Linked DNA regions of Homo sapiens: all the other regions are linked to region 2. Evidence: promoter capture Hi-C in 16 types of primary human blood cells and fetal thymus (Javierre and others, 2016). All regions are on one chromosome and are shown on one strand. Each heading gives the region's core, a stretch centred on a gene start or on the middle of the fragment in contact. The rest is flanking DNA. Distances are from core to core; before and after follow the strand shown. Region 1 has its middle 28 kb from the start of TRI-TAT2-1. Region 2 holds the start of DYNC2LI1 (dynein cytoplasmic 2 light intermediate chain 1). Region 3 has its middle 2.2 kb from the start of TRI-TAT2-1.

Region 1 (3,988 bases), core at 1,234-3,733, 930 kb before region 2:
ACTGCCCGTAAATTGTGGCCTTGGGTAAATGTGAAATCAAGAATGTGGCTGTAAAACCCTTTATTAAAACCTCAGAAAAATTTAAGGGCATTATTTTTGTAGACCTTTTGGATAGACAAAAGGGCTTCCGAGAATATTTTTTTCCCCCTTGAGACAGGGTCTTGCTATGTTGTCCAGGCTGGCCTCCAACTCTTAGGTACAAAGAGCCCTCTTGAGCAGCTGGGACCACAAGCACACACTGCCACGCCCAGTAAAGAATCTTCAGAGTATACATCTTAGATCCTCTCTGCTAGACAATAGGACTTCTAAGAATCCCACAGCAACCTCACAAGTGGCTTAAAGTAGAAGAAGGCCTACTAGGGGAGAAATGGGGGTATGGCTATTGTCTTAAGTAGTAAATTATCATTTGATATTTAAGAAACCCACAAGTTTTTGAAAGAATTGTATCAAGTTGGGTGGGAAGGGACGGAGACAGTTCAAAATGCAGCAGACCCTGGTCATTAGTTTCTTTCTTTCTTTTTTTTTTTGAGATGGAGTCTCACTCTGTTGCCCAGGCTGGAGTGCAGTGGCACAATTTTGGCTCACTGCAACCTCCATCCCCCGGATTCAAGTGATTCTCTTGCCTCAGCCTCCTGAGTAGCTGGGATTACATATGTATGCAACCACACCTGGCTAATTTTTGTATTTTTAGTAGAGATGGGGTTTCACCATGTTGGCCAGGCTGGTCTCGAACTCCCAACCTCATGTGATCCACCCACCTCGGCCTCCCAAAGTGCTGGGATTACAGGCGTGAGCCACTGTGCCCAGCTGCCCTGGTCATTTCTTATGGAGAAGGATGGATAATTGAGTGTGAAGCCAACAGCTAGGGACAGCCCCTCCCTGAGAGCAGGACCAGGTCTAATGAAGACACTGGTGACATGTGCCTGGCTTGCTTTCGGAATTGCACTGTGCTAGTTTCTTCTCCTTTTTGAATGAGAGTGTCTGTTGCCATTATCCTGTGTCCACTTTGTTGCTGTACGTTGGCCATGGGGGAAGACAACTTGTCTCTTTAGCTCACAGATCTTCAGGGCAAAACAAACCCTCTCTAAAGAACCACACCTGAGGGGCCTTATTTGCACCTGGACCTGAGTTAGAGGTTGAGGTCCTGGATTTGGAGCCTGAACCTAAAGGCTTCATGGCTGATACCTTAATGGTCTTGGAAGGCGACTGTATTTTGCACGTGGGAGGTATGTGATTCATGGGAGGCAGAGGGCAGACATTGTGGCAGCTAGTCTTCCAAGATAGCACCCCCGTGTTCACACCCCTAGTATGCCCAACCTTGTGTATTCCCCTCTCTTAACTCTGGGTTGTCTCCGTGACTCGCTTTTGACCAACAGAAAGCAGTGATGGTGAGGCTGCATGACTTCTGAGGATAGGCCATGGGAAGCCTTTTGCCTTTCAGCTGGGTCTGTTAGAAAGCTTGCTCTGGGGTAAGTCAGCTATCATCTTAGAAATTTGATTCCTCTGAGGCCATCATACTATAAGGAAGCCAAGATAGCCACATGGAAAGGCCACATGGAGAAAGCAATAGATTCAGCCAGATTCCACTTGTTCCAGCCATCCCAGCTGAGGATGAAAGAAGATAGGTGAAAGAAGATGCTGCCATCTTGGATGTGCAGTCCAGTTGAGCCAACGTTTGACTCTAGACCAAGGGTGTCCAATCTTTTGGCTTCTGTGGCCACATTGGAAGAAGAAGGACTGTCTTGGGCCACACATAAAATACACTAACAATAGCTGATGAGCTAAAAACAAAAATCACGCACACAAAAAATACTCATAATTTTTTAGAAAGTTTATGGGCTGGGCATGGTGGCTCATGCCTGTAACTCCAGCACTGTGGGAGGCTGAGGCGGGTGGATCACCTGAGGTCAGGAGTTCAAGACCAACCTGGCCAACATGGTGAAACCCAGTCTCTACTACAAATACAAAAATTAGCTGGGCATGGTGGTGGGTGCCTGTAATCCCAGCTACTTGGGAGGCTTAGACAGGAGAATCACTTGAACCTGGGAGGCAGAGGTTGCAGCAAGCCGAGATCACGCCATTGCATTCCAGCCTGGGCAACAAGAGCGAAGCTCCATCTCAAAAAAAAAAAAAAAAAAAAAAAAAAGAAAGTTTACGAATTTGTGTTGGCCTGCATTCAAAGCCATCCAGGGTCTCATGCAGCCCATAGGCTGCAGGTTGGACAAGCTTGCTCTAGGTCCTGCTGCCATTTGACTGCGACTACATGAGAGACCTGTCCCCATAAGCGACCACTAAGTCCAGGTAACCCTGAGAGCTAAAAATATTTTGTTTTTATTAAAAATAATTGTTTTTAATTAAAAGCTTCTTTTGTGTGGAGATGGGGGTCTCTCTATGTTGCCCAGGCTGGTCTTGAACTCTTGGCCTCAAGTGATCCTCCTGCCTCGGCCTCCCAAAGTGCTGGGATTATAGGAGTGAGCCACCATGCCTGGCCAATTGATTTTAAAGCACTAAGTTTTGGGGTTTGTTATGCAGCAGAGATAACCAAAACAGCACAAAATTGCACCTATTTTAATAAAAATGTAAATTAAAGTAAATTGTAAAAGATCAAAGCTTAAAGTTACTTCTCTTGTAAGTTTTAAAAATTATTTTTTCTTAAAATCTTCAAAATTATCTATTAAAATTAAAAGGCAAACATAACTAATAGTATAACCGATCAACTTTATCTAATACATTCAACATTTAAATAAGATGTTTAAGTGAAGCTAAATTTTAAATATAAGTCTTGAAAATGTAATGAAGTCTTACTAAACATTTTTACAAAAATAAACTCATTTACAATTGTAGCATTGTTCCATGTCTGTCTAGTTGCCAATGTAAAGCATCAGTGTCATGCTTCATGCATGTTATATCTTGACCTACATGTGTGCAAATGTAGGCAAATTATGAATTATTCATATTGGAAAATGCTCCTCAGCTGCCATGTGCAACTATAGCAAATATTGTGCTAATGTGTGAGTACCTCTGCAACCACAAAGAAAAGCAAGAAAGTGCATCTTGCCACCGCTGGGATCTGCCACTTCTCTTGCATTCTTGCTATGTGAGAGGAAGGATTTGATCAATGCCTTTTCTCTTACCTTAGTGTGCACACCATCCACTCCTCGCTACACTCCAGAGCCAGGGCAGTGTCTGTCTCTGGTGTGAACAGCAGCATAGCCCAGAAATTTTCACAGTATGTAGACACAGTCTTTTTTGATTCAAGGACATAACACAAAGGATGTGAGGCGTTTCCCTGGGGCCTGAATGGTGTTGCTCATGAGAGTGGATGTTTTGGGGTTAGAGATCACACTGTACTAGTGCTGAGTGCTGGATCTCGAGGGACAAGGGCAGAGATATCCATGTATTCTTTAATGTGTGTGTGTGTGTGTGTGTGTGTGTGTGCAGGGGCCTCTCTTGCCTATGTCTAAGGGCAGTACTGCTTCTAGCTGGCCTGTCCAGATCTGGCAGAGGTCTTTTATGTTTCTCTTCCAGAGAACTATGGGATTCTGACCCTTGGAAAACACATTTTCACTCTGACTCTGTTCTTTGGTTTGGAGCCTATTTCATAGTTAGTTATTAGTCTGGTATGTTAGATGGGACATTTTCAGTTGCAAGTGACAGAAGACCAAATCAAACAGGCTTGAGCAGAAAGGACTATATTGGCTTCCACTGCTGAGAAGTCCTAGGGCGGAGATCCAGGGCTCAAACTTGTTTTCAGGGGTGGGAGCTGGGGAGCCCTGGGATTAACAGATGGCCCCACCAGGACTCCTGCAGTGGGGGGCAGTGGGGATGTGTGTGGTTCCCTCATGGACCGGGGACAGCCAGACAAGAATGTGTCCTCCAGACCTGGTTATCACCTTTTCTGAAATGTAGTTCTTGAGTCTATTGTGCCGGGTGCCTGTGCCAGATTTCTCAAGCAGCTCAGGTGCTGGGCACGATCTTCCTGAAGCAT
Region 2 (3,640 bases), core at 854-3,353:
TTTTTAAACCCTATTTGGTTTCTCATAACCAACACAGTAAAGTCTAGACTACAGCATCCTTCACAGTAGCCCCATCTACCTGCCCAGTTTGCTCTTCCACTGTAGCTCCACCAGGCACTTTATATGATCGCAACCCAAACTATTCAGTTTCCCAAATACATCCTGCACACGCCTTTACCCTTCTGCACTGTTGCTCATTCCATCCAGAAAGCAGCATAAAATTGTCTCCTTCTCCTTCCATTCTTACCTTAAGAACAATCTTCATCTACCCAGGAAAGTCACTTTCTTTGCCCAAGTATGAAGGCCTCAAGAGGAATGAGGGAAGAAAGGGGAACTCACCTGCTCAGTCAGATCAACTGAATCAACCCTGAATCAATGCTGCTGATCAGGGCCCAGCCGGATCACCTTCACTTTCCTGGTTACCAAGCTCCCTCCTTCAAACACCTCTCCCCGTTATTCAAACAAGTGTACTTTTGAAGTACTCGTACTGAGTATTGTGCCCAGTACATAGCAAGCACTTGGCAAAAATGTTAGCTGTCGTTATTGCTATCAATATCAACAGGCCTTCCTAACTAGCATGCAAAAGTATTCTGAAGTTCTAGAACCCAAATCATTACAATTCATTACAATCTGTCCCATATCAGTTTGTGAGCTTAAAGTCTGGCTTAGCACCAGGCTATAGCTGTTGATTCAATGACAGATGTATAAGCCTCCTTTGAAAAATCATCCTTTCTTCGGTGAGCTCTACTCCCATTAATTCCCTTCCTATGTGCAGCTTAGTGTTCTTTACGTCTCCAAAATATACCTAGGTGTTGGGAGGATTTTGTTCCCAATGACTTTATTTGAAATAAACACCCTTTTATCAACCATCAGCCTTGTTTCCAGGAATGTGTTCCTTGTGTTTCTTTGTTCGAAGTTGCTGACCAGCAGCTTATCACACAATAATAACAAGCATTAAGCAGTTATAATGTGTCAGACACCCACGTAAGTTATGTTTTACCTACATTTATCTCATTTAAGATTCACAATCTTTCCCGCTTTACAGGATCAGAAATTCAGTGATTTACCCGATGTGGCAATGTGACAACTTAGCCAGCGTGGCCAAGTCAGAACTTGAACCTAGGTCCATCTCACGCCAAAGCCCATGTACTTGAACATCGCACCATAGAAATCAAGCCGAATAGTAGAGGACTGGAGGGAGGGTATCTCCTTCAAATATTCAGGGCATCTTAGGCTAGAAAGCCTGAGTCTACTCAGCATTCAATACAGACCAAATACTATCAGTGCCATGGTTTCACCATCTCCTTCAGGCATAATTGGTCACTTGCCCTCATGCAATTTTTGTACCTCTATACAATAGTTTAGATCACTCACTTCCTTAGGTGCTTATAATTAGCTGAGTGTGTGTCTTTCTTAAGGGCAGCGATCTTTTCTTACTCATCTCTTTATTCCTTATTCTGTGTAGCATAGGGCCTTGCATATTCAATGATTGTTATTTATTTCAATGCTCGTTATTTATTTGGACACTCCTGCAGATCTATAAAGAGACCACAAAGTTCCAAAAGAAAATAATCTACATTCACAAAGTAAATGAAGTATGTAGGAGATGCACTTGCTTCATTAATTTATTAATAAATACACAATGTGCTATTGAATAAAACTTGAAACAACTAAACATCTAGAAAGTTGGAAAATATTAAAATTACGTGCCTTATTTTAAATTTTAAAGTCCGAATATTCCTTGCTTCTAGTAAATTAGCAGAAAACAGCTCAAGAGATTGTTACACCCTCTATTCCTAAATCATGGCGATTGGGAAGAAAAAAGTGAAAGATGAGAGAGAGAGAGAGCAGAGACCCTTGGCATATAGTTGACACCCAGTAAAAAAATTTTAAAATAAAAGAAAATTGCTTTTAGATCCCAGGTTTGTAACCCCTTATCATCTCGTTCTAGGAGGTAACAAGGAGTTACTAACTTGGGATCTAAAAGCAATCCTAAGGCTTGAGGCCGAGAATGAGATGTAAAAGGACTCCTGAAAACTACATTTCCCATGATGCCCGTCTCCCCACGCAACCGCGGCCGCGACGTCGCTCCCATGGCAACCCAGAAGGCCTCACTCCCAGACTCCTTGCGGAGCTCGCCGCCTGATTCTAGGCTGGTCACTACTCCGAGCCTGTGACGTTTGCGGCAGCCAGGCCGTCGACGATGCCCAGGTATTCCCTGAACCCGGCTTGCGTGGGAAAGGCTACTGAGAGTATTCCTGGAGAGAGGAAGCCCAGGCGGGACCAGCTGTTGGAAGATTGTGGGGGTGGCTACTTGCCACCAGGATATGCAGGGTCGGGGACCTAGGAATCAGCCTTGAGCATAAAGATTCTGCCGCAAACAGGAAAGAAAAGAAAGTTCCCTAGGTAGAAAAGTGAGAGATTTGGAAAGATCAGCAACTCCACCCATTCAATGATTGAATAAAAGTTTCTTGCAGGCCAGAGACTACTTCCGGAGCAGGACATTCGGCGATGAGCTAGACCACAAAGCCTCCTCTCCCCAGGGGCCTCCCCTCCTGGTGCGGGGGTTCGCAGTAATAAGCGAGGGGAAACTTGGAAGGCACTGTGGAAAGTATAACATCACTTTTAAGGGGGGAAACGGGAGAGGGTTTGTAAACTATATTCTAGCTGTTCAATTCTATGATATTCATTTTAATTACCTGTTCACAAGATATTCCTAAACCTTTTCTCAACAATTTATGCTTAAGCACGTCGGGGAGAGGGGTCAGGGAGTGCATCACAGAGCAGGATAAATCTTTTTCTCTCCTTGGGATAGTGTGGAGAATTGTCAGCTTTCCATCAAGGGATAATTGGTTAGTTATAAAGCTATGGTTATACTTCCCGATTTCCGCAGGTGTCGTGGCTGACTGCAGCACCTCCGTCTTTCCTCTCTGCTAGGTATTTGGAAAGCAGATCCTCATATTTTGAAAGAATGTTGTGTAAATGAAGAGCAAACAGCCCGAAACTGAGTTCTGAAGGCTCACCTGTGAAATAAATGCATGAATTTTAGTGCAAACATTTAAGGACTCCTGTTTTGACCCTTTTTCTTATTCCTGGTTCTTGAATAGTATAATTACAAGCCCTCAATAATTTTTGTAATTGTATAGGCCATGCCCTAAACTACATATATATTTTAACAATTATGACAATCCTATAAAGCTGATACTCTTTTTTATTGGCTTTTTAGAGATAGAGAAACAATTGAGCCTGGGGAATAGCACAGAGGATTGCATATATTAGGTGCTCAATAAATATTTGTTTAATTAATAAAGGAATGAAGGATTTAAAGAGGTTAGGTAGTTTTCCCAAGTTCACATACATAGGAAGTAGCAGAATCAGGCTAGGACCTATCAGGTCTTGCCCATGGTTAGTTTTTAGTTTAATATTCCATTTTCACTTAGGCTTTAATTAATATATATATGATTTTATCGTGTAAAGTTATATATCTGTGTAAAGAAATCAATGAAAGGATTGTTTTCAAAATGTTTGTGGTTTTAGGGTTTTTTTTTCTTTCTTTCTTTATGGTTTTTTTTTGGCGGGGGGAGACAAGGTCTTGCTGTGTCACCCAGGCTGGAGTGCAGTGATGTCAACATGCTTACTG
Region 3 (4,048 bases), core at 730-3,229, 960 kb before region 2:
GCCGCAAGCAGGAAGCAGCTCGCAGTGGACTCTCAATACCCCTTTTCCGAGCTACTTGTTGCCACCGCGCGACATCCAGCCGCTCGAACTCGGACATCCACCCACTGCGTCCTTCTAGTGCTCTTCTTAGGCGGGTCCTGTAACTGCACCTAGTCCCGGACCACAGGAGGGCGGATGGAGGTGGCGAGGCGCTCCACTGTGGCGGGGTCCCTAGCTGGCCGTGGGGATCGAATATTCTACAGGGCACTTCATTCTACAGTGTGAGCCCGAGCTCCCGGTGCGGAGATGAGGCCTGGGGCCGGGCCGCTGCCCCTCGCCCCCGGGCGGGGCCCAAGCACCGCCGACCATTCCCAGGCGTTGGGGCCCGAGGCCTAGCGCGGGGCGTCCGGGGAGCTGTGGGGAGACCTGGGGCGGCTGTTTTCCGCCCTTGTAACTCGTGATGAGTTCTTCCCCCTCGCTTCTGTCTGCAGAGACCAATAAGACTGCGGGCCCTTCTCCTCAACCCAGGCGCCCAGCCGTCCCTGGGCAGATTTGCAGTTTGGGGAATGTGCTCGGAGAGTTCCCCTCCCCATCATGTGCCCCTTCTCCTAGCGGCACGTCACAAATCCTGGTTCAGAAGTCCTCCCGGGGGCCGGGAAATCAGGCCAAGTGGTCGCCGGCGGATGCGCCCTGCCCCACATCGCCAGGGGGGGTAGGCAAAGCGGGCACAAGCTTAGTTAAGGGATGGAAAGCCTCCTGGACGTGTTCTTTCAAAGGGGAGATTTTCAGCTGTTTTCATGGACGGGATCGTTGCTAGATTTTGGGTGGAAATATTACCCCGCGAGTGGTGAAAATCAAGACCTAGAACGTTCAGAGAAATGGATGGAGGGCGGAGCTCTTGTCTATCTCCTGCGCTAGCCCAGGCTTCGGTTGCTCTCACCCATCCAGCCCCTCGATGCAGAACAGGAACCCTATGCCAACTGGAATGTGGGAAGGGCCGCCCACTTCCCCTCGTCCTGGTGCCGGGTTCCTCGCCAGCCCCGGGGAGGTCGCCTCTGGCTCACAGACATCCTCAGAGGCATGGGATAGGTCCCCTGTAGAAATGCAGCCCAGGCTTAGAAACAAATAAAATCTCTATCCATTAAAAAAGAATAATAATAATAATAAAAAAATAGGCGCGGTGGCTCACGCCTGTAATCCCGGCTTGGGAGGCTAAGGTCGGCGGATTTTTTTTTTTTTTTAATCACCCAGGAGTTTAAGACCAGCCTGGCCATCAGGGCGAAACCCCGTATCTACTAAAAATACAAAAATTAGCCGGGTGTGGTGGCGCATACCTGTAATCCCAGCTACTCGGGAGGCTGAGGTGAGAGGATCTCTTGGATTCGAGAGGCCGAGGTTGTAGTGAGCTGAGATGGCACCACTGCTCCAGCCTGGGCCAGACCTGTCTAAAAAAACAAAACAAAACAAAACAAAACAAAAAAAACTTGCGGCTGAGCGTGGTGGCTCACGCCTGTAATCCCAGCACTTTGGGAGGCCAAGGCGGGCGGATCACGAGGTCAGGAGACCATCCTGGCTAGCACTGTGAAACCCCGCCTCTACTAAAAATACAAAAAATTAGCCGGCTGTGGTGGCGTGCGCCTGTAATCCCAGCTACTCGGGAGGCTGAGGCAGGAGAATTGCTTGAACCTGGGAGGCGGAAATTGCAGTGAGCCGAGATCGCGCCACTGCACTCCAGCCTGGGCGACACAGCGAGACTCCGTCTCAAAAAAAAAAAAAAAAAAAAAAAAAAAGTATGCTTACTTTCTATAAAAAAAAAAACAAAAAACCCAACAGCTTTAATGGGATATAATTCCTATACCATACAACTCGCCCATTTTACAGTGTACAATGGATTTTAGTATATTCACAGATAAGTACAATCATCACCACAGTAAATTTTCAAACATTTTCATCACCTCAAGACTAGTTCTCACCCTCTCATCTTCCCATCCTGTTCCCCCACCAGCCCTAAGCAACCACAAATCCACTTTTTGTCTCTGTAGATTTCCCTAGTCTGGACTTTCCTACGAATGGAATTATACAGCATGTGGTCTTTTGTAATTGGCTTTTTCACTTTATAATGTTTTCAATATTCATCCATATTGTACCATATATCAGTGCTTCATTTCTTTTTATGACTGTATGACAGTCCATTGTATGGATTCTTTCCATTTTTGAATAATGGAGAAAGGGTTGGCATTTTCAAAAGGAAATTTGCCAAAAACTGCTTTGTAAGAGGTGATTAATTTTAAAATGCACAAACAGAAAAGTGATCAGACTCAGAAAGTGCAGGTTTCTAATCTTCACAGGTAACTCACTGACCACCAGGAGTCTCTTAGGTACTTCTGAGAGCTGAGCTCAAAGCAAGATCCCAAACAGACAACAATAAATGAATGAGAGATCATTCTGTCAACCTCCTATCCACAGAGAAATCCTTTCCACAAAACCCTAGCTCCTATTTGAAAACTGCTAGCATCAGAATTTCAGTTCCTCTCAAGGCAACTTATTCCATTTTCCAACAACTCTTATGGTTAGAACATTCTTCAATATTGTTTCTGTCCCTACTGGTTACTGCTGGAATGGCAGTGGCTTTAGGAACTGTTTTCCTGATAAGATGGTAGGGTTGGAAGGAAGCTAAACTAGTTCTTCTTTCCTTAATTTAGAAATCTTCAGCTACGAAATTATTGATTAGGCCATAAACAACAAACATACTCTGAGCCTATTTGTGGCCCAGTGTCTTAAAGTGATGTTGATAGAATTTTTTAAGGTTGTGGTGGGTGATAAAAATCAAGTGAGGCAGGGCATGGTGGCTCACACCGTAATTCCAACACTTTGGGAGGCTGAGGCAGAAGGATTGTTTGAGCCCAGGAGTTCCAGACCAGCCTGGGCAACATGGTGAAACCCTGTCTCTACAAAAAATACAAAAATTAACCCAGTGTGATGAGGCACGCCTGTAGTCTCAGCTACTTGGGAGGCTGAGGTGGGAGGCTCACCTGAGCCCAAGAGGTCGAGGCAGCAGTGAGCTGAGATTGCACCACTGCACTCCAGCCTGAGTGACTCTGTCTCAATTAAAAAAAAAAAAATCAAGTCAGAATATGGGAAAATGCTTTAAAAACCACAAAGTATTATGACATTTTTATTAGCATCAGACCACTGGCTTAGGCCTGACTATACTGTGTAGTGGCTTCAAGAAGGAAGTGGGTAAGTATGAAGTGACCAAACTGCGAAGGAAGCTTGAAGTGACAACTGAACAACCCCAGGCCCCAGCAGGAGAGAAACCTGATGTAACCCAGGCTGACCTTGGCTTTGTAGAATGCTTGGATGAAGAAGGGCTCATCAGAGCTAGGGGTGACACAGCCTGAAAGGAGTGCAGATTCAGTAGAATTTAGAAGAAGAGTGGAGCCAATCTGGAGGCAAATGTTTCTGACAAATGATAAGATGCAATTTTCATAGAGATAATTGTAAGTCTATGTTCAGTTCAAAGTTCCATGTGTGAGGATGCCTGGCTTGACAGCTGTTTGCATGTAAAAGATCTGGGGATTTCAGATGTGTGCAACCTCGGTTGTGCCAGCAGTGTGACCCAACTGCTAAGAATGTCAACTGATTATTAATGCATTACTATATAATGCATTAGATGCTGTGGTGTCAGGGATCACAAACCAGCCATCTATGGAACAAATCTAGCCTGCAGACAGATTTTGTTTGGCCTTCCAGCACTAACTTGCAAAGTGCTGACATTAAAAAAAAAAAATCATTTGCCTCCATATTGGGAGATTTCACAGAAATGCCGAGATTTTCAGTTTCTAATGAAAAGTCAGGACTGGGTGTGGTGCCTCACGCCTGTAATCCCAGCACTTTGGGAGGCTGAGGCGGGTGGATCACCTGAGGTCAGGAGTTCAAGACCAGCCTGGCCAACATGGCGAAATCCCACCTCTACTAAAAATACAAAAATTCGCCATGCCTGTAGTCCCAGCTACTCGGGGGGCTGAGGCAGGAGAATCTCTTGAACCTGAGAGGCGGAGGTTGCAGT

The links. Contacts are between HindIII fragments. The CHiCAGO score rates a contact against its expected background, and 5 or more counts as called.
Region 1: a fragment that was not itself captured here is called in contact with the fragment with the promoter of DYNC2LI1 in region 2 in 1 of 17 cell types (total CD8 T cells); the score reaches 5.1 in total CD8 T cells.
Region 3: a contact is called between a fragment that was not itself captured here and the fragment with the promoter of DYNC2LI1 in region 2, in 4 of 17 cell types (total CD4 T cells, total CD8 T cells, naive CD8 T cells and 1 more). The highest score is 7.1, in total CD4 T cells.

The regions. Positions count from the first base shown.
Region 1 is chr2:42,837,029-42,841,016 of GRCh38, forward strand. No RefSeq gene overlaps it. Among named protein-coding and RNA genes, the nearest start is that of TRI-TAT2-1, 28 kb to the left of the region's middle. The HindIII fragment of the contact is 249 bases long and covers 2,360-2,608 here.
Region 2 is chr2:43,771,936-43,775,575 of GRCh38, forward strand. It overlaps DYNC2LI1 (dynein cytoplasmic 2 light intermediate chain 1), which reads left to right and starts at 2,104. Exons shown (of 13, transcript NM_016008.4): 1 at 2,104-2,211. The coding sequence starts at 2,204. LOC105374571 (a long non-coding RNA gene) reads left to right here and starts at 2,218. Exons shown (of 2, transcript XR_940033.2): 1 at 2,218-2,611; 2 at 2,938-3,057. It also overlaps the pseudogene RN7SKP66. RefSeq lists an enhancer at 1,990-2,039. The HindIII fragment of the contact is 6,929 bases long and covers 1-3,640 here.
Region 3 is chr2:42,810,743-42,814,790 of GRCh38, forward strand. No RefSeq gene overlaps it. Among named protein-coding and RNA genes, the nearest start is that of TRI-TAT2-1, 2.2 kb to the left of the region's middle. RefSeq lists a silencer at 158-447 and enhancers at 528-627, 658-737. The HindIII fragment of the contact is 2,540 bases long and covers 710-3,249 here.